Regions from separate parts of the Homo sapiens genome. Here region 2 is linked to region 1. The links are contacts of gene promoters, found by promoter capture Hi-C in human tissues and cell types (Jung and others, 2019). All regions are on one chromosome and are shown on one strand. The core of a region is centred on a gene start or on the middle of the fragment in contact, and the rest is flanking DNA. Distances in the headings are between cores, read along the strand shown. Region 1 holds the start of TDRD9 (tudor domain containing 9). Region 2 overlaps AKT1 (AKT serine/threonine kinase 1).

What was found. Contacts are between HindIII fragments. The study calls those that stand out against the background at their distance.
Region 2: a contact is called between a fragment that was not itself captured here and the fragment with the promoter of TDRD9 in region 1, in 1 of the 25 tissues and cell types used here (lymphoblastoid cells).

The regions. Positions count from the first base shown.
Region 1 is chr14:103,926,451-103,930,342 of GRCh38, forward strand. TDRD9 (tudor domain containing 9) reads left to right here and starts at 2,006. Exons shown (of 36, transcript NM_153046.3): 1 at 2,006-2,274. The coding sequence starts at 2,060. The HindIII fragment of the contact is 10,851 bases long and covers 1-3,892 here.
Region 2 is chr14:104,776,313-104,779,845 of GRCh38, forward strand. AKT1 (AKT serine/threonine kinase 1) reads right to left here. Exons shown (of 15, transcript NM_001382430.1): 5 at 347-458. Among named protein-coding and RNA genes, the nearest start is that of AKT1, 18 kb to the right of the region's middle. The HindIII fragment of the contact is 9,824 bases long and covers 1-3,533 here.

The DNA of each region.
Region 1 (3,892 bases), core at 756-3,255:
TCAGGAGATTGAGACCTTCCTAGCCAACATGGTGAAACCCCGTCTCTACTAAAATACAAAAAATTAGCCAGCCATGGTGGTGCATGCTTGTAGTCCCAGCTACTCCGGAGGATGAGGCAGGAGAATTGCTTGAACCTGGGAGGCAGAGGTTGCAGTGAGCTATCGCGCCACTGCACTCCAGCCTGGTGACAGAGCAAGACTCCGTCTCAAAACAACAACAAAAAACAAAACAAAACAAGTGTGAGTTCTGGAGTTGCTTCAAGTGGTTTCAATATATTTTGTAAAATTTTGAATTATGTCCTAGCCTCCACATACAGTGTGAAGTTACAATATTTTCCAATCAATGCTGAATGACATACCATGAGTCTCAATTACTTTATGATTACCTTTTTTCTTATTTTTTGAAAAACATGACTGGGCATGGTGGTTCATGCTTGTAGTCTCAACACTTTGGGAGGCCAAGGGCTCCCAAACAGATTGCTTGAGCCCAGGAGCTTGAGACTGGCCTGGGCAACACAGCGAAACCCCTGTCTGTACTAAAAATATAAAAAATTAGCCGGTGTGGTGGTGGCGTGAGCCTGTAGTTCCAGCTATGCAGGAGGTTGTGGTGGGAGCATCACCTGAGCCCCCGAAGTTGAGGCTGCAGTGAGCCCTGATTGCAGCACGGCACTCCAGCCTCAGCGACAGGAGTGAGACCCTGCCTCAAAAGAAAAAAGAAAAGCAAGTTATTTCTTCCTGGCAAAGTGTGTTGAGGCACTTTTGGGAACCTGTCGTATTTGGCAGAGTCCTAATATGAGGTCTAGAGCTCATTATGCCAGGATTTGGAGCCAGAACTCCTGGCTTAGTATGATTATGGGTTCAATTTTTGAGACACCAATAGCTCAACCTACCTGCCTGATTTCTGTCTACAGTGTTTTCAAACCGCCCTCTTATTTGCCACTGCTTGGGCTTTACACTGCTGATTAGAGCCATGCTCTCGATACCGTCTCTGTATTTGTTCACATGGCTCTTTCCTGAGAGCCCACATGGGCCAGATAGATCCTGCCCTGGCCAGTGAGGGGGACACACCCCAGGCAGGTGGCCATGTCTCTCTTCTGACCCTCCCTTCCCTTGCACACGTGGCTGCCTTCCCGTGCATCCTTTGTTGATTTCTTCCCGCGGCTCCTTCTTTTGGGGAGTTTGCTAGGGCTCTGTTCTCCACCCTCACTCTTCTAGAGCTCGGCCGGGACCACCTCAGCCTGTATCTTTGGTCCATGTGATCGCCTGGACCTCCTGTCCGCACCTGTTTGTGTCCAGCTGTGAGTCTGACACCGCCGCCTGAGACACCGGTTTAGGAAGGAAGATGAATTCAGTTATGATCCGGCTGCAAAGAACTTCTCCCAGATCCTCACCTCAGCCATCAGGGCCGCCTGCCCTCCCCTATAACCCTGGGTGGTCCTCCGTCTGGCGCATTCCCCCGTATCCTGCAGGGGTCTGCCTGGCGTTACTTTCTCCGAGACCTTCCTGACCTTCTTCTTGCCCCTCTCCCCCCATATTAGGTGCAAGGATGTCCTGGTACGTCTGACCCACGAACGCAAATCCCTTCTCTGGTTTGCCTTCCATCTCCTCACCCTGAGGTGCTCAAGAAACGTATGTAGGGTCCCGGTCCGCTCAAAGCGCACAAACCTCCGAGGCAGCAGCCTCTAAATAGAGAGGCCAGGGAGTGACCGGAGGGCATTTTCTTGTACACACAGGGGTTGCCACGGAACTCCCGTGAAACAGACTCCCGGGCCAGCCGCGGCGCTCAAGCTTCCCCTGAGGTCCTAGAAAGGCTCACCCTGGGCTCGCTCGGGGCGGCGGCTCCCGGCAGGCCTAGCGCGGCGGGGCGGGGCCGGCGGCACGAGGACCAGGCAGCGCGGGCAGCACGCGCCCGGGCCGGAGCCCGCCCACAAGGGCGCGCGGCGCGTTCTGATTGGAAGGCCTCGAGCGGGGGCGGGGCTTCCAGGGTGCGCTTCCGCCGTCGCCTGTTCCCGCCGCGGAGACCCGGCAGTTGGGGGATGCCGACGCCTGGGCCTTGAGGATGCTGCGGAAGCTCACCATCGAGCAGATCAACGACTGGTTCACCATCGGCAAGACGGTGACCAATGTGGAGCTGCTGGGCGCGCCGCCCGCCTTCCCGGCAGGGGCGGCCAGGGAGGAGGTGCAGCGCCAGGACGTGGCCCCCGGCGCTGGTCCCGCGGCCCAGGCTCCGGCTCTGGCCCAAGCTCCGGCCCGGCCGGCCGCTGCGTTCGAAAGGTAGGACGCGGGCGGGGCGGAGGCGGCTGGAGGGCGGCCGGGCGAGGCCTGGCGACGAGGGCACGGGCCATCCAGATCCTTCTCGCGAGCCCGTGCCCTCTCGCGGGGCTCCAGGGACCCCTGACCGTCCAGGGCGAGTGGTCACTACACAACCCGACGCGCGGCCCAGAGCGGTGCCTGTAAGGAAGCTGAGCTAGAGGTTTTTTTTTTTTTTTTTTTTTCAGTTCTTAATGTTTAACAGACTAGTTTTTGAGGCACTCAGGTTTTCAGGATAACGGAGCGGAGGGCAGAGGTCCCATAGGCCCCTTCCCTCCCAGAGTTTCCCCTGTGAGCATCTGCGTAAGGTGTGGGTATTTGTGACAGTCGGCGAACCTGCATCGCTGCGTCTTCGTCACCCGGAGGCCATCGTTACAGGAGGGTTCACGCCTCGTACTGGACGTTCTGTGGGTTTGGACAAACGCCTAACGTCACGCATTACAGAGTTCACTGACCTACAGATCTTCTCGGCCCCACTGTTCCTGCCTCCCTTTCCCTACACCACGTGGAAACCACTGATTTTTTTACTGTCTCCATAATTTTGCTTTTCCATACTGTCATCTAGTTGGAATCACACAGTATGTGTAGCCTTTTTGATGGGTTTCTGTCACTTAGTATTAGTATGCATTTGGGGGTTCCTCCATGCCTTTCCATGGTTTGATAGCTTCTTTCCTTTTAGCACTGATTAATATTCCACTGTCTGGATGTACCACAGTTTATCTCCATTCACCTACTGAAGGAGAGCTTGGTTGCTTCCAAGTTCTCCCCCCACCCCCCGAGATGGAGTCTCACTTTGTTACCCAGGCTGGAGTGGAGTGGCGCCATCTCGCCTCACTGCAATCTCCCCCTCCTAGGTTCAAGCGATTCTCCTGCCTCAGCCTCCCGAGTAGCTGAGGCTACAGGCATATGCCACCACGCCTGGCTAATTTTTGTATTTTTAATAGAGACAGGGTTTCACCATGTTGGCCAGGCTAGTCTAGAACTCCTGACCTCAGGTGATCTGCCCACCTCAGCCTCCCAAAGTGCTGGGATTACAGGCGTGAGCCACTGCGCCCGGCCTGCTTCCAAGTTTTGGCAAGGTTTTTGTGTGGACATAAGTTTTCAACTCATTGGGTAAATACCAAGGAGTGCAAATGCTGAATCTTTGTTAAGTTTCACAGACTCCCTCCTCATCTCACTATTCTTTAAGTAGCTACCATCAGTTACTCTGTTCACTTGATTTGGGTGGAAATAAAAAGCAAGAGTATATCCTCTGTTTTTAGAGGAAAGACGTAGATTTGGTGAGTAGAAACACCTGCTCCCTCTTCTCGCTCTTTAAAAAGGCCCTGGGAGAAGTACTTCCAGCTTGGAGTATCTCCGTCACTCTTGCTCAGTCCCCAAGTCCAGCACGCTTTACAGTTGAGAAGGTGGTTTTGTTTTTCTTTTTCTTGGTTTTTTTTTTTTGAGACATAGTTTCGCTCTTGTTGCCCAGGCTGGAGTGCAGTGGCGCAATGTTGGCTCACCACAAACCTCCGCCTCCTGGGTTCAAGCGATTCTCCTGCCTTGGCCTCCCGAGTAGCTGGGATTACTGGCGTGTGCCACC
Region 2 (3,533 bases), core at 223-2,722, 850 kb after region 1:
AGTTTTATATTTTTAGTAGAGACGGGGGTTTCACCATGTTGGCAGGCTAGTCTCAAACTCCTGGTCTCAAGTGATCTGCGCACCTCGGCCTCCCAAAGTGCCGAGATTATAGACGTGAGCCACTGCACCCGGTCCCTAGCCAGTTTTTATCTCCAGCCTCAGTTTCCCCACCCAAACCCCACAGGCAGGACTGGGCCAGTTTCCAAACTGGGCTCTGAGGAGGGCCTGGGAGCACTGGGGAGTGAGGATGGCTACAGGCAGAGGTGCCAGCACCCCGCCATCCCCGTGTCCCTCCTAAGCGCTGGGGCTGCCCAAGTGCCTGGCCTGGCCGCCACAGCCCACGTACCGCTCCTCAGGAGTCTCCACATGGAAGGTGCGTTCGATGACAGTGGTCCACTGCAGGCAGCGGATGATGAAGGTGTTGGGCCGGGGCCGCTCCGTCTTCATCAGCTGGCACTCTGCGGGCAGGCAGAGCCTCTGTCTGCGTGCATCCCCCTGCCCCTCCCAGGGCCCTCACCACAGCCCCCGCTGCACCAGCCAGCTCCCCTTGCATACCACCCACCAGGTCCTGGGAAGCCCCATCTCTTCCTCTCTCCAAGCCTCAGTTTCTCGCCTCACAGAGTGGGGCTAGGACCCCTGTTCCAGCTCAGACACTCTACTCCAGGCTGAGGCAGCCACACAGGGCATCTGGCCCGGCGTCAGGTCAAACCCCCACCATCGTCCACTCCTACAGTCCTTCCTTCAGTCTCTGAGCCCCGCCGTGCGCCAGGCCTCAGAGGATGAGGGGTATGGAGATCCCACAGAGGGGCTGGCATGAGGGGGGCACCCCAGAAACCTGCTTGTCCCACCTAGTGTAGAAATGTCCTGCTTTTTTCCCAACCTCACCCTGAGTACCTGGGAAATACAGCCACCTGGAGCACACCCACACCTGGGGCACACCCACACCTGGGGCACAGGCACACCTGGGGCACAGCCACACCTGGGGCACAGGCACACCTGGGGCACAGCCACACCTGGGGCACACATACATCTGGGGCACACACACACTGGAGGCAAAGCCACACCTGGGGCACACGCACACCTGAGGCACACACCTGGGGCACACGCACACCTGGGACACAGCCACACTGGAATACACAGACATCTAGAACACATCTAGACACCTAGCCACATCTGGGGCACACGAACACCTGGGGCACACGCACACCTGGGGCACAGCCACACCTGGGGCACAAGCACACCTGGGGAACACATACCTGGGGCACAGCCACACCTACAGCACGTACACCCTGAGGGCTGTGGGAACGTGCGGGGCCCTGAGAGGTGTGAGTGAGTGGAGTGTGTAGCCGCTGGGGCTCCGTGGCAGGCTCTGGCCCAGCCTGTGCAAAGCAGGAGGAGGCTGAGGGGCCAGTGGGGGGCCTCTGACATTCCAGCATCGAGGCCCTGGCAACCACAAGGGGGCCTGGCCAGGCAGCAAGGAAGCTGTCTTCCAGGCCTGGGGGCCAGGAGGGGGCTCGGGACCAGCCTGGTGGGGAGGGTGGCCTGTGTCAACACAGGCCAGAGAAGTGGAAACCGGTGTGAAGCCCCGGCACACCCACCTCCCACTCGCTCCTGGATGGTCCGATCTGCCCCAGTATGCAATCCCCAGGGCCAGAGTCTCGAGCCCACTGCCCCGGAACCGTTCCCCGGAGAAAAGCCCCGGACAGAGGCCCAGCACAGCCCCTGGCCCCTGCCCAGCTCTGCTCCTTGGCCAGGCGCTCCAGGCCACTCACCTATGGCCTAATCTGAAGGCCCCAGCCTTGCCAGCTGCTCAGGCAACACCTCCAGCTGGTACCCACCCGTGTGCCTCTCCAGAGAGCTCCCCACCTCGTTCCTTCCCAATGCCTCGGCCTGGCGAGCACACCCACAGCACCCACCCCCAGCAAGGCCCTGTCCCAGGTGCCACCAGGCACGCTGCTGGCACCCAGCCTCTCCCTGATCCCTGAAGCCCCCAGCCCCAACCGAGGAGACACTGGGGAGGGTGTGGGACAAGTCACAGTGAGTCTCCTGCATGGTTACGAGGCTGTCAGGAGACAGGGGTGTCTGCCTTCCTGGTCTCCCCTCACCCCTGGGGTGCCCTACTCTATCAGGCTGCCCTGCTACTGCTGGCTTGAGGCTGGAAGAGCCAGGGAAGGAGACCTCGGCTTACAGGAACCAGGTCCTGGTAAACCCCACCCCAACCCCAGCCCCTCAGCCTGGGGCTTTGCAGGGCAAGGCCTCTGCCCCTCCCAACTAGAAGCTTCAGGGCACGGTTTGCTGGCCACAGACCACCTAGCAGCCAGGGTGCCAGACTGACCCCACCTCCCCTTATACGTGCAGGCACCAAGGGTGGGAGTCCTTCCCTGCCCAGCCTGGGGACGGATTCCCTGCATTTAACCTCCTCCCAGACCCTGGACCAGAACCTGGGGGTCCAGCAAGTTCAAGGGAGTCGGAGGACCGCAGGCCTCAAAGAAAGGAGGGCAGAGCTACTTGGAGGGGAGGGGCCGATGCAGCACATGGGGATGGAACCTAAGGCCAGCCCCTGGTGGGCACCTCGCTCTGCACCACAGACCTGCCTGAGACAGATCCCAGAGGCCTGCAGTTACCCAGCCCTGCCACATACAGATGGCCCACAACTGGGCCCTAATTAGCCACTCAGTCACACCTGCATGCCCAACCCGTGTCTCTGGCTGCCACAGGCAGAGCTGGGCTCCAGGACAGGGACACAGAAAATGGGGACCATGCTGGGAGGCCCACGTGTCCCCAGCCTCCCACCTAGCAGGGCGCCTGGGTCTCCATGCCAGGGTTCCCGTCTGACATGGGTAGGGTCGCACCTGCCCCCGCTACAGGTAAGGAATAAAGCCACAGCAGGGCGGAGCAGGGAGCGTCACATGTCTCTCATCTCTGTGGGATGCTCCGGCCAAGGTCCCCCGCTGGCCTTTCTGCACCTGCCCCTCCATGGGCAAGGAGGCAGCCTCACAGAGGGGAAGCAAAGGCTCTGCCATGGGGTCTGGAGGCTGAGAGCCTGTGCAGGGAGAGGCACGAGCTCTTCCTCGAGTGATGGAGGCTTCAGAGCTGGAGACCCCAATGGACTCTTGCCCCCTCACCCAAGGGGTTTCCCAAGGAGAGGCCCTGATGGGCTCTATCTAACCCCCTTGGAGGAGGGGCCCCCGGGGCAGCTGTCCACCCTGAGACTGGGCTCTGCTGCCACTTGTCCGGACCCTCCAGCTTCCAGAGCATGGGCACCAGGGAACTGCTCCAGGGTCAGCCAGCCTTGGGACTCGGCCCAGAGACCCCCGCCCAGCCAGCCTCGGCCTCAGGACTCTGCCCAGAAACCCCTGCCCAGCCGGCCTCGGCCTCGGGACTCAGCCCAGAGACCCCGGCCCAGCCAGCCTCGGCCTCGGGACTCGGACCAGAGACCCCCGCCCAGCCAGCCTCAGGACTCAGCTCGGAGACCCCTGCCCAGCCAGCCTCGGCCTCGGGACTTGGACCAGAGACCCCTGCCCAGCCAGCCT